Regions from separate parts of the Homo sapiens genome. Here all the other regions are linked to region 2. The links are contacts of gene promoters, found by promoter capture Hi-C in blood cells and fetal thymus (Javierre and others, 2016). All regions are on one chromosome and are shown on one strand. The core of a region is centred on a gene start or on the middle of the fragment in contact, and the rest is flanking DNA. Distances in the headings are between cores, read along the strand shown. Region 1 overlaps LOC105377684 (a long non-coding RNA gene). Region 2 holds the start of ADRA1B (adrenoceptor alpha 1B). Region 3 has its middle 190 kb from the start of LINC01845. Region 4 has its middle 170 kb from the start of LINC01845. Region 5 overlaps LOC105377684 (a long non-coding RNA gene). Region 6 overlaps LOC105377684 (a long non-coding RNA gene).

Region 1 (4,081 bases), core at 1,335-3,834, 330 kb before region 2:
ACCCTTGGTAATGCCAATCCCCTTGAGTATGTGCCAGACCTAGTGACTCATTTCTAATGAATAGAATGTGGTATAAGGTCATAGGATATCACTTTCAAGGTTCAGTTACAAAAAAACTATAGCTTCCATCTTGGACACTCTTTCTCTTTTATTAATTTTCTGGGAAGCTTGCTGTCATGTTTTGAACTGCCCTATGGAGAAAGCAACATGGCTAAGAATATGAGAGAGCCAACAGGACAATGAGGACCTCAATACAGCAAGAAACCAAATCCTGCCAACAACCATGTGAGTAAATATATCCTCCCCCAGTCAAGACTTCGAGTGAGATTGCTGCCCTGACCAATACATTAGTTGTAGCCTTGTAAGAAACCTTAGAACCAGAGGCAGTAAGCTAAGCCATGCATAGATTCTTGGCCCAAAGAAACTATAAAATAATAAGTTTTTGTTTTAAGTCACTAAGTTATGTTTTAAGTCACTATGTTTTAGGGTAATTTGTTACAAAGCAAAAGATAACTAGCACAACTGCCTTCTCACATGCTACATTTATTAGATTGCATGGAATTATTAGCTACATTCTTTACAATGCTCTACTACATCTAATCCTCACCATGACCTGGTAAATTACTGATATTATTCTCATTTTGTAGATAAAGCAACTGTCCATCAGAAAGATTGAGTAACTTGACCAAGGTAACACATCTAAAGGTGAATCAGGTTTTTGACCACAGATTTGGTCAACCCCCAAACTCTCAAGCTAGACTTGATTTGCACAATACCATTGAGCTGGGATCAGAATGCATTCCTCTTGATTTCAAGGTCCATTTTTTTTCCTGTTTCTCATTTAAAAAAATAAACCTTCAAATGAAAGAAAGATTATATGAGATGGAAAGATTCAGGTGGACATAATGATATTCAGTGTCTACCACTACTTCTTTCTAATCCTCATCTGCAAAAGAAGGCCTTTGAGCAAAGGATTGGGCAAATGCTATTTCTTACAAAGTTACCGCACCTGGAATCTAATTGTATTAATCTTCTCAGGTTTCCATAACAGAATACCAGAGGTTGGATGGCTTAAACAACAGAAATTTGTTTTCTCACAGTTCTGGAGGCTGAAAGTCTGAGACCAAGGTGCCAGCATGTTCAGTTTCTGCTCTGGCCCCTCTTCCTGAGTTGTAGATGTCCACCTTCTTGCTTTGTTCTAACACGGCTCTCACAGAGAGAGAGGGTTCTCTAGTGTATCCTGTTCTTGTAAGGACACTAATTCCATCAGATTAGGACACCTTATAACCTCATTTAACCTTACTTCCCTAAAAGCCATATCTCCAAATACCATCACATTAGAGGTTAGGGCTTCAAGATAGGAATTTTGCGGGGGTGCTGGTAGGGGACATAATTCAGTTTATAATATAAATTGACATTCATTTATTGGCCACTAGATCCAAAACTGGATAGAGATTAAGGATGCCACTCCCAGTGTATAAGCCTGAAACTTGATGTGGAAAGGGACCAAGAGATATCCAGTAACCAAATCAACTTCTTACCTCTCTACTCCTTGATTTCTGACAGACACACTGAGACTGATAACCCTGCAGTGGAGGCCTGAACTTAGGCTATGTGTAGCATTAGTAAATGGCTCAAACAACTCCAAACTCCTCATTTTACAAATGAGGACCTTGAAGCTCAGAAAGATAAAATGACTTGCCCAGGGTTGCAGAGCTGGCTAGTGGCAGGGCCAGGCTTGGGTTTAAGTATAATGGCTTTCACCCTCATGCCCCTTCCCCTTGGCCAGGCTAGAAGATGGGTGTCCTGAGAAACCCTCAGAAGGAGAACACTGGACAAATCCTTGAAGTCTCCCGGGCACGTGGGGATTGTGATGGAGGGGTGTATTGTGTGTGTGAGTGTGTGTATGTGGAGTGTTGCTGGGCAGCACAAGACAGCATAGCTGGCACCTTTGTTTTCCTCATGATTCAGTTTCTTCTCTTGGGCCCCTCTTCCTGTGTAAAATAAAAGCCCCTCCTGGCAGTTTACTAAGGGTAGGGATTGACAGACTTTTTTTTTTTTTAGGCTCTTTAGGCCAGACGATCTCTCTTGCAACTCAACCCAGCCATTGCCGCTTAAAAGTAGCCATAGACCATGTATAATCAAATAGGTGTGGCTGTGTGCTAACAAAACTTTATTTACAAACAGAGAGCAGGCTGGATTTGTTCTAAGGATATATTTTGTAGAGCTGCTAGAGCTAGGGTGCTTTCTTTGTCCCTGACAAACATCCTCACATGAACTTACTCATCCCTTTTCTTATTTTGCCAAGTTCTCAGATTCTGAAGACCAGGACTCCTCATGAATCTGTCAGCCCCCCTCACCCCAGCTCTGGGCCTCTGTGTCACCACCACTGCCACCTCATCATTATTTTATTTCATGCCAGTCACTAGACTAAACACCTTACAGGCTTTATCACATTTAATTCCTTCAGCAACACCAACAGGTAAGTATCACTCCACATCTAACACGACTTGCCTGAGGCTTAAAGAACTAAGTAACTTGTCCAAGGTTGTTGTAAATACTAAGTGCAGATTTTTACCTTTTTTTTTAAAAAAAAATTTGTGAATCCCAAGCTCTTAATAAAATCTCTACTAACTCCTGAGTAGATGGTTTTAAACTAGCACAATGAGAAAAATCACCAAAGTTAAAAGAATATAGAGTAACAAGCTGAACCCTTTAATCTCAATTGTAGGCCTAGAGATCTAGAGCAGTGCTCACTAGGCCAGGGAACAAATGAAGGTGAGCATCAGATTCTGCTGGGGAGATTGTTAAAATGCACATTCCTGGGCCCCGCTCTCAGTTATTCTAATTTCTTAAACACAGGAGGAGACCCAGGAATCTGCATTTAAGCGAGCATCCCAGATTCTAGGACCAGTGAGAGGCACACAACTTCTGAGGTCCTACTAAAAAAATGCTGTCATCAGACTTGATGCAGCTAAGATGCTTTGGGGCATCTACTTCTGCATCTCCGGTCCTTTTGGATGGCTCAGCAGCATGACAGCTCTCGCTCTGATTCAGCACTAATGTCCTAACATTATGCTCCTTAGAAAGCATAACTGCTGTACTTTAAGTACAGCCCCAGGAGAATGAGAGCTCTGGTTTTCTTTCCTTTTCTCTTCTCCTCTTTTATTTCTCAATTCTTGGCATGTCTATGAATATCAAATGAGTGAATTTTATCAGAAACTTTTAATTTCTTAATGTGGCCCTTTCAAGCCCCCCCCAGGACTTCGGGGAAAAGAGAAAGGGCTCATTTCAATTTGAACCTTCAGTAATCGCACTAATACAAATAAGCAAGGGATGACTACTTGGCACATACATGGTTGGTATTTATGAGAATGTGGAGGTTAATGCAGATTTTGCATGCACGATTTTTTTCTTCTGCTTGGCGATTTAGGCACTCACATCTCTACCCCACCAGCAGCGTCTTAGAGGCAGTGAGAACTCTATTTTAGAAGGTGAGTCTGTCCTTTCAAGTTGACAACTTGCTTGCCTTTCGGTCCAACCCCAGTCACCTGCCCCAGACCCATTCTAGAAGTGTCCCATTCTCCTCATGAATGAGAAATGAATGTGCTGTTGCAGGCTCGCAGGCACAATGCATCATTCTGAGTGTGTGCTGGGCTCCTCGGCTTATATTCCAAACATGCTGTGAATGCTCAATTGCAACCACTGGGTTTCTTCAACCTGACTTGCAATCAAATGGATATCGTTTGTGCGGGGGTGGTAGAAAGTGAGTAATGGTGTGTAGTTTCATGGAGATGCTTGTTCTAATAAAATATTTCAAGGTCCAGTGTTCCAAATCTCATTACAATTTTGCTATGAAAAGAAATGGGGTATGTATGTGTGTGTATTTGTGAGAAACTGGTAACAGGTAAGGTTTCTTTCTTTCTTTCTTTCTTTCTTTTTTTTTTTTTGAGACAGAATCTTGCTCTGTCACCAGGCTGGAGTGCAGTGGCACAATCTCAGCTCACTTCAACCTCCGCCTCCCAAATTCAAGCGATTCTCCTGCCTCAGCCTTCCAAGTAGCTGGGACTACAGGTGCACG
Region 2 (3,684 bases), core at 780-3,279:
CTGAAGATCTAAATCACTATAAACTTGTGAATCTCTTATTATCAAATCTTCAAATACAGCTTAGGGCAATTTAATTATAATAGAAAATAATCCATTTTCAGGACTGTCTCTACCACAGATTTCTTAACCCGAGGGAAACCCCCTGAAATTGTGTATTTTGCACATGTGTGGAGTCTGTGCACTTTGCTGGGAGTAAATTAAAACCTTCGATACGTGTATGATAACCACCTGCCTCCCTTCTCAAAAAATAAAAATAAAAAGAGGTTAAGAGCTTACCTCTAGGTTGAGAAGCTTAGATGTAAGTCATCCTGAGTGACTTCTGTTTTCCCCACCCGTGAATATCAAGTTATAACAAGTATCAAGAGCAGAAGGTGAGAAACCCAAGATGCAGGCTTGTGAACTGGAGTAAAAGAAGGTATCAGGCTTTACTTTTCAATCTCCAGCTGCCACTGCCCATTGCTCTGCCATATATTTGCTAGCCTATGACCTCAGGAATCAACTGACTCTCTCTGAACCACTGTTTCTCATCTCTCAATGAACAATGGTTATGCTTCTCTCAAAGAATTGTAAAGTCTCAAAGAAACTGAGTAAATGCATGGCTATCAGTAAGCGCTCAATTCATGGGAGTCCCTGCCCAGCACCAGTGGCTCAGGCCCCAAAATTAACTACTCAAAAGGCAGCTCCATCTATAACAGTGGTTCCATCCCCTACCTTGCCCCGGGGGAAAAGTATGACACAGTAGCTGAGTACCCAACTTTGGGAGAGACCCCACAGTTGAGTTCAGTTCCCAGCAGCTCTCCTCCATGCCTTTGTGAACTTGGGCGAACAGCTAAACTTCCCCATAATTTGGTGTCTCATCCATGAAATAGAAATGGTGAAGAGTGTATTCTTTCTCTCATGAGAGTCATGAGAAAATGCAAAAAGAACTCAGCACACTGTCTAGGACAAAATAAATGTTGGATAAATGTGAACTAACATAAAGTTCTTTGGCTTTTTCTTTCTTTCTTTCTTGGCCCATACTTTCTCTTCTAAGTACCATTCACCCACCTTTGGGAGTGCGTCCCTGTGACTGAATGTCCAACATGGATATCAGACAGAAAGGAAAAAACTCAACAAATAACCAAGATCCTCTACGTCCCTTCCCCAGGTCTCTGACCTCCCTCACCCCCACTCCCAGATAGCCAGCTAGCTTCCTCCCTCAATTCCCTTCATGTTTCCTCAAATATCACTTCAGTGACATCCCAAGCACCCACTTAACATTTCAAATCCACCCCACAAACACCCCACTGCATTTCCCCCTCCTTACTTTATTTTCAGCCTAACACCTGTCATCACATTACACACCTCATCATTTGCTTATTTAGTATACTGTCTGTCTTCTGTCGGGAGAAGCTACGCTCCTATAGGGCAGGAGTCCGTCTATTTTGTTCAGTTGCTATGTTCACAGCGCCCAGAGCCAGGGCAGAGAGTGGAGACTCCGTAAGAATCGGCTGAATAAATGAGTGAATGCCTGAGCGAATGAAAGGATGAAGAGAAGCCAGATTTTACTGGGGCCAAAGAGTTTGCACGGGGCGAGGGGAGCCAGATGAAGGATGAGGGCTGGCCTCAGATCCGACTCAAGTCCCTCCCACCTGCCCAATCCTAGAATTCTCTTTCCCTCTTTTAGGTGCTGGACAAGTTGCATATCCCGTTAAATCCGGGGCCCACTCCGGGAGCCCCCTATTAAAGGTAAGCAGCCCCCAACCCACCTTTGACACGGAAGAGTGACTAGCGGGGAAAATAACCCCAGCGGGCCGCCTAGGGGTGGGTGACCCGCGATCTCCACGCCCAGGTCCCGCCCTCGCGGCCCCTGCCCCCGCCCCGCCCCCCGCAGAGGGCGCGCCCTGGGAGCGGCGGGGGACGCGGCTGGCTTCCCGGCTTGCGGGGTGGCGGCGTCGGGGCTGCGGGCGCCTTGGCTGGACCCGCATTGCCCCCTAGTGCCGCGCGGAGTCAGGGCGCCGGGCTCCCCCGCCTGATGTCACCGCCGTGCAGTCAGCCCAGAAGCGGCTCATTGAAAGCAGACCCTCTTCGGCGCTCGCTGGGCGGAGGACGCGCCGCGGTCCGCAGACCCGAGCGAGCTGGGCACCGCCGGGCGCCCCCGGCCCTGCCGCCCCCTCCTCCCCGCCGCTCCCCCGCGAGCCCGGCCAGGCGCGCCTGACGTGGACCATTAAACTTGGAGCTGCCGCCTCGTCCCCTCTCCTCCTCCTCCTCCCTCTGACAGGCGAGCGAGCGACTCGGTGCAGGCAGGAGACGTGCTGCCGGGCTGGGCTGCCCGGGGGAGATGACTCCTCGCCAGGAGGGCGCCTCTGGGAAGAAGACCACGGGGGAAGCAAAGTTTCAGGGCAGCTGAGGAGCCTTCGCCGCAGCCCTTCCGAGCCCAATCATCCCCCTGGCTATGGAGGGCGGACTCTAAGATGAATCCCGACCTGGACACCGGCCACAACACATCAGCACCTGCCCACTGGGGAGAGTTGAAAAATGCCAACTTCACTGGCCCCAACCAGACCTCGAGCAACTCCACACTGCCCCAGCTGGACATCACCAGGGCCATCTCTGTGGGCCTGGTGCTGGGCGCCTTCATCCTCTTTGCCATCGTGGGCAACATCCTAGTCATCTTGTCTGTGGCCTGCAACCGGCACCTGCGGACGCCCACCAACTACTTCATTGTCAACCTGGCCATGGCCGACCTGCTGTTGAGCTTCACCGTCCTGCCCTTCTCAGCGGCCCTAGAGGTGCTCGGCTACTGGGTGCTGGGGCGGATCTTCTGTGACATCTGGGCAGCCGTGGATGTCCTGTGCTGCACAGCGTCCATTCTGAGCCTGTGCGCCATCTCCATCGATCGCTACATCGGGGTGCGCTACTCTCTGCAGTATCCCACGCTGGTCACCCGGAGGAAGGCCATCTTGGCGCTGCTCAGTGTCTGGGTCTTGTCCACCGTCATCTCCATCGGGCCTCTCCTTGGGTGGAAGGAGCCGGCACCCAACGATGACAAGGAGTGCGGGGTCACCGAAGAACCCTTCTATGCCCTCTTCTCCTCTCTGGGCTCCTTCTACATCCCTCTGGCGGTCATTCTAGTCATGTACTGCCGTGTCTATATAGTGGCCAAGAGAACCACCAAGAACCTAGAGGCAGGAGTCATGAAGGAGATGTCCAACTCCAAGGAGCTGACCCTGAGGATCCATTCCAAGAACTTTCACGAGGACACCCTTAGCAGTACCAAGGCCAAGGGCCACAACCCCAGGAGTTCCATAGCTGTCAAACTTTTTAAGTTCTCCAGGGAAAAGAAAGCAGCTAAGACGTTGGGCATTGTGGTCGGTATGTTCATCTTGTGCTGGCTACCCTTCTTCATCGCTCTACCGCTTGGTAAGTTGGGGACTAGCAGCAGGGGGACTGGGCATTTTTGGACCTTGGGTTTACTGATGAGCTTACTCTAAAGTTTTTTGTGGGTTTTGTTTCTTATGCAGTCTGTGCGTGTTCGGAGATTGAATAATATTGTTTGTTCTGCAAAGGGTTTGCAGATTGGGGAGCTGGCTAAAAACCAACTCAGGTGTTAGTAGAACACGCTAAGGCACTAGCTTCTGGAAATAGAACCAGGGAAGGAAAATCTGGTATGAGGAATGACTCACTCAACAGCCTCGGTTTAAT
Region 3 (4,011 bases), core at 1,322-3,821, 260 kb before region 2:
GTATTTCCAAACCCAGTGCCAGGGAAAACTGGAACACCATTAAGATAAGCTGGAAAATGACATGGGAGAGCAGGCCTGATGATGCTGGTGGGACATGGTAGGTTTAGAGTTGTGGACAAGTTAATTTCAGGGCCATCCAAGGCACGGTGTGCAAGTGAAAATGTCCAATCAAGCAGTTGGCAATTTGGGAATAGAGTCAAAGAGAGGGGACAGGCAGCAGTAGATTTAGGCATCCTTCCCAGAGGAATGGCCACCCCTTAAATAAAAGTCTTCTGGGGCCGGGCGCGGGTGGATCACGAGGTCAGGAGATTGAGATCATCCTGGCTAACATGGTGAAACCCCGTCTCTACTAAAAATACAAAAAATTAGCCAGGCATTGTGGTGGGTGCCTGTAGTCCCAGCTACTCGGGAGGCTGAAGCGGGAGAATGGCGTGAACCCGGGAGGCAGAGCTTGCAGTGAGCCGAGATCGCGCCACTGCACTCCAGCCTGGGCAACAGAGCGAGACTCTATCTCAAAAAAATAAATAAATAAATAAAAATAAAAGATAAAAGTCTTCTGGGATCAGAAGTCCCGGTGAAGGGGCGAATATTTTATGAGGGTTTTGGTAACACTTCACCAGGGGTACTTAGACTTCTTTGCCAAAGGTTAGAGAAAGTGGACTAAGACCCAAGGGGTCTGGGCTGCAACCCCCGGCCGCTTATCTTTGAAGTCTCTTGTTTTAAAACATCGTGTGAATTTTTCATTCCATTCCACAATATACAAATAAGGTTTTAAATTACCTTTGAGTAAAACTGACATTGCAGTATGACAGGTGGCATTTAGCCTGCGGCTCCACATAGGATAAATTATTCTGAGCACACATGCATAGAAGGAGCTCACACTTCAGCTTGAGACACAAGGCATTCAGCGAGGAGCAGGAATGCCACCATCAGATGAGCTGGAAGGTTTGCAAGGGAAGCCCTAGAGGGAGTGGAACTCCAGACCAGGGGGTTTCGATGAGGGTAAGACCACCTGGAAAGGTCTGGTTGCCAGGAGGGTGTAAGGTGGAGGGGTCACCTGGGTGATCTCAGGTCTTGGGGCTCTATATGATGGGATAAGGACCTAGGAAGGGATAAAGAAGTGCTGGGAGGCCAAGCATTGGCAGTGCCTGTTGACTATGGGTAGAAGGCAGGGAAACTGCCTGGGACTGGGTGATCAGGGAGCCCTTTGCTTTGGGATTCTGTAAATGAAGGACTTTGGGAAGTTCTCCACGGGGCCACTAGCAGGCTGAGATTTCTCTCCTGAGTGGAAACAGATTGCCAGAGCTTCAATCCCACAGCATATTTCACTGACAGATTGGGTGCGATTTTTCCCGAGATGAGGGCGTTTCAAAAGCAGAGGAGGAAAGGGAGGCTGGGAGGGGAAGGTGGGTGGGGGAAGACAGCTGTCAGCTTCAGTGTGGCTTCAGGACAGCTCTTGCAGATGTGGGCAGAGCAACAACTGCCAATTTCCCAAGCCTCGGGCGATTCTCCAAATCTGGGGTCACAGGAGGGTGGGGGCAATCCTGATTGTACAAGAGGGTCCTGAGAGGCTTTGGGGACACAGAGCCTAGCTTCAGGGTGGGCTCACTTTGCATGTGAAATGAACATAACTCCTTGTACCAAATTAAACCAATTTGATCAAAATTTGTAATGCAGAGGAGCATAATTAAATTGAAGATTTTAATTAGGCACAGTTTTGATGAAACTTAACGGGAGCCGGCAGGAACAGTCTTGCTGTCTGCTAAACATAATCCTGCCTGGTGAAGAGCTCTATAGTTGATGATCTTTAATGACTGCCCAGCTCTCAGCTTCGTAGATGGTGTTGCAGTCAGTTTGGAGGAGGCCGGGGAGGTGCGAGCAGACTGGGGGAGGAAGAAGTGAGGTGGGACTTGCATGCGCAGGGAGGTGTCTTGTCTCTTTCAAAGGAATGCTGCTGCTAAACTTTCGGGGTACCCAATTACTCGCTTTTCATCTGCCAAGGTGGAGAAATTCATAGTGGAGAATTACATTGAGGGCTGTTTTACAGTAATGAGGCAGGAAGGAGAGGGCAGGGCTCGCTCCTGGATTGAGAGGGCCTCTGCGGGACTTCTTTGCTAATTGCTTTGTGCCTCTCAATTTCACTTCACAAAGCTTGAATTTTCCCTTGGCTCCCAACAACAACAAAACACAATAAAAGGCCTCTGGGAACAGAGAGTGGGGAGAGCCCTCAGCTTTCAGGACTAGATGCTCAGAAGGGCCTGGCCAGGATCTGTTTCCCCAGCACAGTATTCAGTATATAGGGGAGATAGTAAACACCACATCACTGAAGGGATGAAGAAATGAACACAACAGTAAATGGATAAGTCATTTACCCTAGGACTCTCCTGACAAAGAGAAAGAGTTAAAAATATGAGCCAGTTGGTCGGGCGTGGTAGCTCACTCCTGTGATCTCAACACTTTGGGAGGCTGAGGCGGGTGGATCATGAGGTCAGGAGTTTGAGACCAGCCTGGCCAACATGGTGAAACCCTGTCTCTACTAAAAGTACAAAAATTAGCTGGGTGTGGTGGTGGGTGCCTGTAACCCCAACTATTCGGGAGGCTGAAGCAGGAGAATCATTTGAACCCGGGAGGCAGAGTTTGCAGTGAGCCAAGATTGCACCATTGCACTCCAGCCTGGGAAACACAGCAAGACTCCATCTAAAAAAAAAAAGAAAAAGAAAAGAAAAAAAGACAAAAAAGAACCAGTAATGTTTGCTGCCTTTTAACAAAAAGTACCTGTACTTGAAGAAGGAATCTTCCCCTCCTTTCTTCCTTTCTCTCTCCTTTTCTTCCTTTATGCAACATATGTTTACTGAGGCCTCACTGTATGGTCAGCACTTTACCAGGCTCTATATTCTGGCAGATCCTTAAGAGTCCAAGTTCCTTCCTGCCCTCATAGATCTAGCAGACTAATGCAAGAAACAGCAGTGGGCACATATTTATGATTTATAAGAAGCTTTGTGTAGGAATAACAGAGAAGTCATACTTTGGTTTAAATCAGGGATCAGCGAGTGACAGCTGAGGGCCAAATCATGCCATTGTCTATTGAAAATAAAGTTTTAATGGAACAGAACCATGTCCATTCATTTACATATATTCTATGGCTGTGTTTGCTACAATGTCAGAGTTGAAGATGGGTAGTTGTGACAGAGACCTCATGGCCTGCACAGCCTAAGATATTTACTATCTGGCTCTTTATAGAAGACATATGCCAACTCCTGGCTTAGATGGTCAGGGCAGACCTCTCAGAGAGGATGAGGTTTAGCTCAGATCTGGAGGAGAAGTTTAGCTGGTTGAGGGGTTCCATACCCTGGGGTTGGTGGGGAAAGAAGTGATGGCCCTGCAGTGGGGATAAATGTGGGGTGTTCAAGGACCTGGAGGAAGGTCGGTTTGATTGGAAGATGGTGATGGGAGGACACAGGGCCTGGATGAGATGGAAGAGGAGGGAGGGCCATTTTATTCAGAACCTTGTAATCTAGCTCCTGGAAAGGGATTTGGATAAGATTCTGAGTGCACTGGAAAGCTCCTGGAGGACTGTAAGCAGGAGCATGTTCTGATGTAATTTTTAAAGAGCACTCTGGCCACTGTGGTGAAGGTAGCTTACAGAGGTAAAACATTCAGATGTTGGTGGCTTGTATCAAGTTCATATTAGTACCAATGGAGAGTCATGGGCAGATTTGAGAGGTAAACTGACAGGATTTAGAAATACATTAAATGTTGGAGGGGGTAGTTAGGAAGAAGGAGAGGTCAAGAATGATCCCTCCCAGATTTTTGGCCTGAGCTGCTGGGTCCCATTTGCTGAGATTAGGAAGACTTGGACTGGGGTAAAAAGAAGTTTGGGTGGGTGATTTAAGAATTCAGTACTTTTTGTCCTTCTTCAAATTGAGATTCGTGTGAGACTCCCAAGTAAAGGTGACAGGGAGACAGTTGAATATATGACCCTGAAGTGCAGATGAGAGGCCCAGGCTAAAG
Region 4 (3,824 bases), core at 1,182-3,681, 280 kb before region 2:
ATGTACTTATAAAAAAAGTATAAATGCATATTTTCTCTTTTCTTCTCTTAACTGATTCAAAATAAAATGTACAAATAATATGTATATAAGATATTATTGGGTCTATAACATATAGATATGTGATATATTTGTAATATGTTTGCCAATACAGTACAAAGGAGATGAGTGGTAGTAGATCTGTATTGGGCAAAAGAAATGACTACAGATGGTAAAGCAATAATTATAACAATGTAGTGTTGGGTTTCTAACATTAAGATGCAATATGAATGAAAATAATATCACAAAAAGGGAAATCAAGCTATATATGTAAAAAAACATTGCTATGTATCACTATAACTAAGCTAGCATAACTCTGAATCTAATTGCTATAAGTTAAAATGTATATGGCATACCCTAGGGTATTCACTTTGGAGAAAACTCAAAAACTAGTAAAACAGTTATTAAAGAAATTTAAATGCTTCATTAAAATTATTCACTTAATGCAAAGAAAGTAATGAAGGAAGACTAGGGAGACAAAAAACACAAGACACATAGAAAATAAAAAGTAAAATGCCAGACATAAATCCAATTATATCAATAAGACTGTAAATTTATTAAAGAATCTAATCAAAAGGCAAAGATTGTCAGACTGAATAAAAAACAAGATCCAAGTATGGGCTATCTACAGGAGGCACATTATGGATTCAAAGATACAAAGAAATCAAAAGAAAAAGAATGGAAAAAATATACAATGCAAACAGCAACCACAAGAAAGCTGAAGTAGCTATATGAATATCAGACAAAATAGATGCTAAAATGAGAAATGTTACTAAAGACAAACAGAAATATTTTATAATGATAAATGAGTCAATCCTTCAGGGAAATATATCAATCATAAACATATATGCCCCTGATAATACAACACAAAATACATGAAGCAAAAACTGACAAAAAAAGGCAGAAATAAATAATTCAACAATAATAGTTGGAAACTTTAATACTTCATTTTAACAATGGATAGAACAACTAAGCAGAAAATCAACAGGAAATAGAAGCTTCCTAACAATATTACAAACCAACTAGACTTAATAGACATCTACAGAATAGTCTACTCAAAAACAACAGAATGTACATTATTCTCAAGTGTATAAGGAATGTACTCCAAGATAGATCACATGCCATGTGAAATGAGAAATTAATAATGGAAAAAATTTAGGAAACTCACGGTAAGTGGAAATTAAAAAATATACTCCTACATAACCAGTGGATTAAAAAAGAATCAAAAGGAAAATCAGAAAATACTTCAAGATGAATGAGATTAAGACAAAACATACTAAAACTTATGGGATGCAGCTAAAGCAATGTTCAGAGGAAAACTTATAGTTGTAAATGCCTATGTTGAGAGAGAAAAAAAATCTTAAATCTATAACCTATCTTTTTACTTTAAGACACTAAGAAAAAGAAGTACAAACTAAACCTACAGAAAATAGCAGAAAGATAATAATAAAAATCACAGTTGAAATTAATAAAGTAGAGAACAGAAAAACAATGGAGAAAAAGTGATGATGCCAATCTAGTTGTCTTAAAATGTCAACCAAATTGACATACTTTTAGCTAGGTTGACCAAGAAAACAAGAAGACTCAGATACTAGAATCAGAAATGAAAGGATATCAATACTCACCTTGGAAAACTAAAAAAGATTATAAAGAAATATTATAAATCATTGTATGCCAATAAATTAGATAACTTAGATTAAATAGAGAAATTTCTAGAAAGACTGAAATAACTGAAACTTACTCAAGAATTAGACAATCTGACTAGACCTATAATAATAAGTCAAAAGATCAAATTAATAATAAAAATAATAAAAACCTACCTACAAAGTTAAGCCCAGGTCCAGGTGGCTTTCCTACTGAATTCTACTAAACATTTAAAGGAGAATTAGTACTATCTCTTTAAAAGTTTCCAAAACTTTAAATATTTTCTAGAAATTTAAGTATTTATTTAATGATTTTAAAGAAAAAGATCAGTATTACCCTAATATCAAAGCCATACAAAGACATCACAACAAGAGAAAACAAGAGATGAATATCTCTCATGAATAGGGGTGTAAAATTCTCAACTAAATACTAGCAACCTGAATCTAATAACATAAAATCCAGGAAATCTAATTTTCAGTCAAAACAAGGAAAATTTCTATTTTCAATGCAGTTCTGCCTCCATTTCTGATTCACAAACACACTTCCCAGGAAAGTAAGCCTCTTCTATAAGTATACATCTCATGCTAGTGTGCATGCAGCTTGAGAAGTCAGCTGCATGGAGAGGAGCTGGCAGAAATAAAAATTTTTCTGAAAAATTCAGAGAAAACAACAACTGTAATGTACATATCATTTTGCACAATGGCCCTTGGCCTCAGAAAATTATAGGGAAAGAACATAGATGATGTGAAGAAAAATAATATGAAGAAAATTAATTTTTGTTGGTTTTTCAGACTTTCTTGGAAGAAACAGTATTTCTTTCCTCATATCCATTCATGTTAAGAATTCCTAGGATGTCTCAAGCACACCCTCAATAATTTACAATTGTCAAGCCACAATTTGTAGACACTCACAACTTTAAATTAAAAGGAATTCCTAGAGAAAAGTTATAATAATTAGCTCTCATATTTGTGTTGTTTCAGTTAGGATGTTTTTGTCCATAAATAATAGAATATCAGATGAACAGTGGCTGAGACAATAAAGTCATTTATTATCTCACCTAGCAAGAAGCCTGCATGTAGGCAGTTCCTGGGCTGTTTCATCAGCTCAACAATGGCACTAAAGATTTAACATATTTCTACTTATTTCGTCATCCTTAACTGTTGGAGTTTTGTCCTCATGCTCATTGCCTTGTTATCATAAAACGGAAGCTACAGCCCTAGACATCACATCTGTGTTCAAGGCAGGAAGAAAGAAGAGATAACACAAATAAACTCTTCATTCATTGGTATCTTTTATGTAAAAAAACACAACAAATTTTTTTCCCCAAAGACTCTTGGCAGACTTTTGCATATATAGTTGACCCTTGAACAACATGGGGGTGAGAGGCACTAATCTCCATGCAGTTGAAAATTTGTGTATAACCTTCAACTCCCCAAAAACTTAACTGCAAATAACCTACTATTGACCAGAAGTGTTACCAATAACATAAATAGTTATTTAACACATATTTTCTATGTTATATGTATTAAATACTATATTCTTATGATAAAGCAAGAGAAAAATAAGACGTCATTAAGAAAATCATAAGAGAAAATATATTTACTATTCATTAAGTGGAAGTGGATCATCATATAGGTCTTCATCCTCATCATTGCCACACCGAGTAGGCCAAGCAGGAGGAAGAAGAAGAGAGTTGGCTTGCTTTCTCCTGGGGCAGAGTCAGGAGAATATCCATGTATAAGTGGACAAACAGTTCAAACTTGTGCTGTTCAAGGGTCAACTGTATACGACTAGACTGAACTGGGTCTCACAGCCATCCCTAAATATGAGTAAAGCTGGAGAAAAACCTGATTAGTAAAAGTGAAAGGCTGCTAAGATTGGCTTAAAACAACCATGATCTAGTTCTTGAAACGGAAAAAGTACTTCCTTGAACAAAATCAGGATTCTATTAGGGAGGAAGTTGAGAATGGCTGTTGGTTGGGCTCCTCACAGTGTATGCCACAAATGCCATGTAATGTTCTTTTCCCTGAGCTATTTTCCCTTCTATCCAATCCCATTCTTAGAGTCTCCCAAGGAGTTAGATAGGTTCTGTGTGTCACAGATAAGTAAAGTTAGACTCTAGTAAGTGAGCGGCTCAGAGTGCT
Region 5 (3,843 bases), core at 414-2,913, 310 kb before region 2:
ATGGTATTGAAATGACATTTTGGGAAACATTTCCATAGATGCGCATATTTCTTGGGTTTCTGCCCTACATCATCTTTTCATATGCTTTCCATGGGTGAACTCATCAACAGCCAATGATCTCAATTTCTGCCTTGTTCCAACAACAATTCTCTGATGACAACTGGGTGTCTTGCAATTTAATTCAATTCTGACACTAACTACCCAGAGTTAGCGCAGACCCCACAAGTTAAGAACAACATCCTTCACAAGATTGCCCCCACTTCAGACACCAAACGTCAGTCTCAGTCAGCCACTGACTGACCAGCTACAAATTCAGGGGTTTCTATGACTCTCTCAGGTTCAGTAATTTGCTAGAACAGCTCATAAACTCTCTGAAAGTGCTATTCACATGATTACAGTTTTATTATAAAGGATACAACCCAGGAACAGCTAAACAGAAGAGGCACATAAGACAAGGTCTTGGGAGGGGAAGGACACTGAGCTTCTCTGCCCTCTCCTCTAGGAATCCAGGCATATTTATCTCTCAGCACATCAGTTGTTCACCAACCAGGAAGCTCCTTTGAGCCTTGGTTTCCAGAGTTTTTACTGGGGCTTCATTATGGTTGATGGATCAGATCACCGATGACTGATCAAATCACGATTGATTAAATCACTGGCCATGTTGTTGAGCTCAGTCTCCAGCCTCACTTCTCTCACTGGACATTATTGGGCTGGCAGCCTAAGGTTCTAACACTCTAATCATGGGATTGGTCTTCCTGGTGACCAGCCCCCATCCTAAAGCTATTTAGGAACCCAGCATGAGTCATCCCATTAGCATAACAAAGACATTGTTATTACTCAAGGTTTCAAAATCTTTGCACCAAGAACTGGGATAAAGACCAGATATATTCTTTATTATATCACATATATATATGGATGAATCACAAATTTATATTTCAGCTCCTACCTCTCATCTGAAATTGAGACTTTCAGATACAACTGCTACCTGGGTGTCTTTTTCAGGAGGTACCACTTGTATCTCCAAGCCATCAGTATTCATAAATAAATCCCCATACCCACCCCATCACCACCCCATCACCCTAACCAACGCATACACTCTCTTCCTCCTATATTTCTTCTTAGTAAATGTCATCATAACACCATTCTCCCAGCTACCTAAATCTGAACCTGGGTTTTACCTTTGTCTTTTCTTACTCACATATAGTTTCCTCCGTTTTGAAAGTTCGTCTTGCTTCCCCTTCTCTTTCTGCTTACTGTTTTGATCTTAGCTTAAAAGTCATGGTGTCCAGGAAGACTTTGCTGGTCTCCCAGGACGGATCAGGTGCTCCTGCACTTCCATAATCGTGGATGTGATCATTTCCTGTTTGTCTCTCTTGCCTAGTACCTTGGTGAGGGCAGTAATTGAGTCTATCTTATTCACTTTCATACCCTTGTACCTGGCACATAGTTGACGCTCAATAAATAATTACCCAGCAAATGGATAACATGATACAAAGTTGGAACATTTCAAAATAAGACTTCTTATAGATAACTACTTTCTATACCAGTAATTTATCAACTTTCCAGTAGAGGATGCCTTGGCATAATCTTATTTTGAGAATTAAATAATTTGTTTGTTCATAATCGCTGCCTTATAAGTGTATTTATTCATACATTCGTTCTTTGGATATTTATTGAATATCTACTAATGTGAGAAGCAGTGCCCTGGTCCTTGGGGCTGGAAATGGGTGAAAACCTAGTCACAGTCTACTGAAGAATTATGTATTTCTATAAGCACAATTGCAATAAAATATCATGGGTCCTATAAAAAATGGATGAGGAACATATTGTAGGAAATATTCAGTGTGATTATATTGAATTATTGTTCTCAACTCTTTATTCCTTTCTATAAAGGATTATACACTCACAACCTCTGCCATATACTTTCTAGTGCCTGTCACAATAGTAAACAGAGTATACATACCTGCCCCTACTTACTTACTTGGACTTGGCTATGTGACTTTTTTTGGCCAATGAATATAGGCAGAAGTAAAATGAGAATACACCAATTCTGAGCAGACACTTTAAGAGACAGCAAGTTTCTGTCAAGCGTCTCAAACTTTTTACCTTTGAGTAAGGCGTACGTTCCCAGTAATCATTACTCTTTCAGCCTGAGTCCTGGAATAAAGACATACGGAGCAGGCATAAACCCAAACCACAGATTGGAGTCTAGCTTAGCCCAGCTGAGCAAAGCCAATTCACAGGCTGCCTATATCCCTATCAACATTAAATTGAATTTTTTTTTTGTTAGCTATTGAGGTTTGGGAGGAGGGTTGTTGCTACATAGAATTATTACAGCAGAAATCTGCTGATACACTGAGTATCCATCTGTCTACCAGTGCAGTATGAGACATGAGACATAAGGAAAAGGCTACATGGTTGTGCTCTTTCCCAGGACACAATGCTCCCAGTTCTCTGATGGTTGTAGACATTTAGTTAAAAAAAAAAAATAAAGCCAATACAATGAGCTCAGTGGTTTTTTCCGTATGATGTGAAACTTAAAAATTCAGATGTGGCAAGAAATAAACATGGGGTTCCCTAAAAAATCTGACGTAGCTGAGCCCAGAAGCTCATGCCTGTAATCCTAACATTTTGGGTGGCCAATATGGGAGGATCATATGAGGCCAGGAGTTCAAGACCAGCCTAGGCAACATAGTGAGACCCTGTCTCTACAAAAAAAAAAAAAAAAAAAAATTCACTAGCTGGAACTAGTGGCTTGCACCTGTAGTCCCAGCTACTTGGGAGGCTGAGGTGGGAGGAACACTTGAGACCAAGCGTTCAAAGCTGCAGTGAGCTATGATGGTGCCACTGCACTCCAGCCTGAGTGACAGAGTAATACTTTGTCTCAAAAAAAAAATTGTATATATATATATATATATATATATATATATATATATATATATATATATATCCTGGCCTATTTATAGCTGAAAAAGCTACCTTAGATTTACAGGCATTTCTCCAATAGCTTATTTTCAGAATGCAAGCTAGATGTAGTGGCATTGACCAATTAGGGCATTCAATTTTAACTGTGCAGAACATTAGAGTTCTGATAGAATCACTGTATAATTGTCATCACTTAAATAAGAAAAGTTGGTTTTCCAAAACACAGAAGCACACTGCTACTTGTAGGAGTGGTTGGTTTCTCAGTGTGAGTTTACTTTTGTCGACCATTTGTAGTTGTGAACTGTTCTATAATTTATTTTCATTTTGCACTAATAATGAGCAGCAAAAGTAATAAAACTGTATAAAAGAAACTCTCTAACTCCTAAACTCTTTTTCTCCATTTCAACAATTTTTTATTTGTTTTCAATGAGAAGTGGTCGAGCACAGTGATTAGGAAAAAACACTCTGAATTAGACTTATTTGAATTAGACTTTGAACCTAGGCACCATCAAGAATAGTGTAAAAATCATCTAAGCACTCGGCCTCAGTTTTTCATTTGTAAAATGAGGATCATAATAGTGCTTATCTTTAGGGCTGTGAGGAGTCAATGAAATGATCTTGTGAGACCTCAGCACAGTGTCTAACAGATAATAAGCAGTCAATAAATGACAGAAATTATTACAGGACAAATTTTGTTAGTGCAACTTTTCTTAGGAAAGCAGCTGTTTATTATAGAAAGACAGGCTGTGTCATGGCATTTGCCTTGACCTTCACTATTGAAAAAAAAAGCCTCAGGACCCAAATCATGATTAATTTATATGCTATGTTTATGAACAGCTAAGCTTTTTCTACTTTGGTTCTCTGAGAGGAATAAGGGTCAAAGACACAGAAAATTTGAACTCACCACAAAACGAATAC
Region 6 (3,693 bases), core at 162-2,661, 290 kb before region 2:
TGATACGAGTGCAGAAGTACAGCTGACTATGTGGGCAGGCAGGGAGGGGCAAGGTGTGAGAGCCCTGCTTGCTTTCTCATCAGGGAGGCTCATAGCCTGGGGCAAGATCTCAGCCCTGCTCACCAGCTGTCTGGTGAGCACAGATATAAACTTTGTGCTGTTGGTGGGGCACAGTGGGAGTGAGATAGGCCTTTCTGGCTGTGTGAGAGCTGGGTGAGGCCTGTCACTTCCAGCTTTCCTCCACCTTCCTGGTGACCTGTATTACACAGCAGAGATAGCCATAATCCCCTCGGGAACACAATTTCACTGGCCTGAGAACTGGCCCCCATCCCCCACAGTGATCACAGCAAGCCCCACCCATGGAGAGTCTGAGCTCAGACATGCCTAACCCTGCCCCCACCTGATGGTCTTTCTCTATCCACCCTACTAGCTGAAGACAAAATATATAAACTCATGGAAGCTCTGTGGCCCCTCTCATTGCCTAAGAAACCCAAATACTTATCCAGGCATCTTAGGGTAAGCTTGTATCCCCTCTATACTACCACAGATGATGCTCTCTTGAAAGCCCTACCTTTTGGCTGGAGGTCAACCAACTCAAGCCATGACAGCAACTCAGGACAGAACAACCCTGCTCCAAAGAAGGAGAAAACGACAGCTCATTCCACTGCCTGCAACACCCTGGTGAACCAGAGGTCCTAAGTCTGTCCATGTGACCACTTCACTGCTAGCATAACAAGCATTCCAGAAAACTACTGCACTACACAAAACTACAACTGAGGACTCCCACAGAGTCCACTTCACTCTCCGGCCACCTCCACCAGAGAAGGTGCTGGAATCCATGGCTGAGAGACCCAAAGACAGATCACATCATAGGACTCTCTGCAAACATTCTTCAGCACCAACCCAAAACTTGGTAGCCTGGCAGGGTGGCTATACCCAGAAGGGCAATAACAATCACTGCAGTCTAGCTCTCAGGAAGACCCATCCCTAGGGGAAGACACATCAAGGGATCAGCCATGGGACAAAAGAATCTGAGCAGCAGCCTTGAGTTGCAGATCTTTCCACTGAAACAGTCTATCCAAATGAGAAGGAACCAGGAAAGTAATTCTGGTAATATGACAAAACAAGGTTCTACAACATCCCCCCAAAAATTACACTAGCTCTCCAGCAATGGATCCAAACCAAGAAGAAATCTCTGAACAGCCAGATAAAGAATTCAGAAGGTTGATTATTAAGTTTCTGGATTCAGAAGCTTAATAATCAACCTTCTGAATTCTTAAAAGCTTCTAATTATTAAGTTTTCTCCATATTATCAAGAAGATACCAGAGAAAGGTGAAAACCAACGTAAAGAAATTTTTAAAAAATATAGAATTTGGATGAAAAGCCTCCAGAGAAATAGATATCAAAAAAAAGAAAAGACAATCAAAACTTCTGGAAATGAAAGGCCTACTTAAAGAAATGCAAAATACACTGGAAAGTTTCAACAATAATATCAAACAAGTAGAAGAAAGAACTTCAGAGCTTGAAGGTTAATTCAAAAAGCTTTTGAATTAACCAAATCTGACAAAGACAAAGGAAAAAAAGTTTAAATGAACAAAGGCTCCAAGAAATTTGGGATAATGTTAAGTGACCAAACATAAGAATAATTGGTGCTCCTGAGAAAAAAGAGAAATCTAAAAGTTTGGCAAACTTATTTGAGAGAATAATCGAAGAAAACTTCCCCGTCTTGCTAGAGGTCTAGACATCCGAACACAAGAAACTCAAAGAACACCTGGGAAATTCATTGCAAAAAGATCATCACCTAGGCACATAGTCATCAGGTTATCTAAAGTCAAGAGGAAGGAAAGAATCTTAAGAGCTGTGAGGCAAAAGCATCAGGAAAACTATAAAGGAAAATCAATCATATTAACAGCAGATTTCTCAGCAGAAACTCTACAAGCCAGAAGGGATTAGGGTCCTATCTTTAGCCTCCTTAAACAAAACAATTATAAGCCAATAATTTTGTAGCCAGTGAAACTAAGCTTAATAAACGAAGGAGACAGAAAGTCTTTTTCAGACAAACAAATGCTGAGAGAATTCACCACTACAAAGCCAGCACTACAAGAAATGCTAAAAGGAGTTCTAACTCTTGAAACAAAGCCTCAAATACACCAAAATAGAACCTCCTTAAAGCATAAATCTCACACGGCCTATAAGACAATAGCAAAATGAAAAAACAAAAAGTATTCAGGCAACAATAGCATGATGTATAGAACAGCATCTCACATCTCAATACTAACATTGAATGTAAATGGCCTAAATGCTCCCTTTAAAAGATACAAAATGGCAAAATGAATAAAAAATCCACTAAGCATGTGCTGTCTTCAACAGACTCACCTAACTCATAAGGACTCACACAAACTTAAGATAAAGGGATGGAAAAAGATATTTCATGCAAATGGAAACCAAAAGTGAGCAGGAGTAGCTATTTTTATATTAGACAAGACAGACTTTAAAGCAACAACAGTTAAAAAAGACAAACAGGGACATTATATAATGATAAAAGGATTAGTCCAACAGGAAAATATCACAATCCTAAATAGATATGCATCTAACACTGGAGCTCCCAAATTTATAGAACAGTTACTTCTAGACCTAATAAATGAGATAGAGCAACACAGAAATAGTGGGGGACTTCAGTACGTCACTGACAGCACTCAATAGGTCATCAAGACAGAAAGTCAACAAAGAAACAGTGGACTTAAACTATACTCTAAAACAAATGGACTTAACAGATATTTACAGAACGTTCTATCCAACAACTGCAGAATATACATTCTTTTCATCAGCACATGGAAATTCTCCAGGATAGACCATAATATAGGCCAAAAAACAAGTCTTAATAAATTTAAGAAAATCAAAATTACATCAAGTATTCTCTCAGGCCACAGTGAAATAAAGGTGAAAATTAACTCCAAAAGAAACCTCAAAACTATAAAAATACATGGAAATTATAATCTGCTCCTGAATGACCTTTAGGTCAACAATGGAATTGAAATGGAAATTTAAAAATTCTTTGAACTTGAGGCAGGAGCATAGGGTCTGGGGCAGGGAACCCAAGGATTTCCTAGAACTAAAGCAAATGGAAAAACCCCAACTTTCTACAACCAGGTAAATAACTTTGTAACTCTATTTCAGCTATGACAGGAAACATTCTCTTCATTTGCATAGGGTATACACCAAGTACATAACTTTCTAACTTCACTTCAGCCTCTTCATTTACATAGAGCATACACCAAATAATCAATGGGAAACCTCCGGAGGTATTTAAACCCCAGAAAATTCTGTAATCCAGCTCTTGAGCCACTTGCTCAGGCCCACTCCCACCCTGTGGAGTGTACTTTTATTTTTAATAAATCTCTGCTTTTGTTGCTTCATTTTTTCCTTGCTTTGTTTGTGTATTTTGTCCTATTCTTGTCCAAAATGCCAAGAACCTGGACACCCTCCCCCAGTAACAACCTGAACAATAATACTGACACAACCTATCAAAACCTCTGGGATACAGCAAAAGTGGTACTAAGGGGAAAGTTCATAATATTAAATGCCTACATCAAAAAATCTGAAGGAGTACAAATAGACAATCTAAGGTCACACTTCAAGGAACTAGAGAAACAAGAAAAAACCAAACCCAAACCCAGCAGAAGAAGAGAAAT

What was found. Contacts are between HindIII fragments. The CHiCAGO score rates a contact against its expected background, and 5 or more counts as called.
Region 1: a fragment that was not itself captured here is called in contact with the fragment with the promoter of ADRA1B in region 2 in 3 of 17 cell types (endothelial precursors, megakaryocytes and M1 macrophages); the score reaches 7.1 in endothelial precursors.
Region 3: a contact is called between a fragment that was not itself captured here and the fragment with the promoter of ADRA1B in region 2, in 2 of 17 cell types (M1 macrophages and megakaryocytes). The highest score is 5.8, in M1 macrophages.
Region 4: a fragment that was not itself captured here is called in contact with the fragment with the promoter of ADRA1B in region 2 in 1 of 17 cell types (megakaryocytes); the score reaches 11.8 in megakaryocytes.
Region 5: a fragment that was not itself captured here is called in contact with the fragment with the promoter of ADRA1B in region 2 in 2 of 17 cell types (M2 macrophages and megakaryocytes); the score reaches 6.5 in M2 macrophages.
Region 6: a fragment that was not itself captured here is called in contact with the fragment with the promoter of ADRA1B in region 2 in 1 of 17 cell types (megakaryocytes); the score reaches 5.5 in megakaryocytes.

The regions. Positions count from the first base shown.
Region 1 is chr5:159,583,433-159,587,513 of GRCh38, forward strand. LOC105377684 (a long non-coding RNA gene) reads left to right here. Exons shown (of 20, transcript XR_941139.3): 14 at 168-285; 15 at 2,309-2,482; 16 at 3,434-3,494. Among named protein-coding and RNA genes, the nearest start is that of LINC01845, 120 kb to the left of the region's middle. The HindIII fragment of the contact is 4,838 bases long and covers 166-4,081 here.
Region 2 is chr5:159,914,453-159,918,136 of GRCh38, forward strand. ADRA1B (adrenoceptor alpha 1B) reads left to right here and starts at 2,030. Exons shown (of 2, transcript NM_000679.4): 1 at 2,030-3,402. The coding sequence starts at 2,454. RefSeq lists a silencer at 1,864-1,923 and enhancers at 1,987-2,603, 2,604-3,220. The HindIII fragment of the contact is 3,740 bases long and covers 290-3,684 here.
Region 3 is chr5:159,656,588-159,660,598 of GRCh38, forward strand. No RefSeq gene overlaps it. Among named protein-coding and RNA genes, the nearest start is that of LINC01845, 190 kb to the left of the region's middle. The HindIII fragment of the contact is 844 bases long and covers 2,150-2,993 here.
Region 4 is chr5:159,636,320-159,640,143 of GRCh38, forward strand. No RefSeq gene overlaps it. Among named protein-coding and RNA genes, the nearest start is that of LINC01845, 170 kb to the left of the region's middle. The HindIII fragment of the contact is 2,798 bases long and covers 1,033-3,824 here.
Region 5 is chr5:159,601,843-159,605,685 of GRCh38, forward strand. The region is part of intron 16 of LOC105377684 (a long non-coding RNA gene); the gene reads left to right. Among named protein-coding and RNA genes, the nearest start is that of LINC01845, 140 kb to the left of the region's middle. The HindIII fragment of the contact is 4,203 bases long and covers 1-3,765 here.
Region 6 is chr5:159,621,199-159,624,891 of GRCh38, forward strand. The region is part of intron 19 of LOC105377684 (a long non-coding RNA gene); the gene reads left to right. Among named protein-coding and RNA genes, the nearest start is that of LINC01845, 160 kb to the left of the region's middle. The HindIII fragment of the contact is 260 bases long and covers 1,282-1,541 here.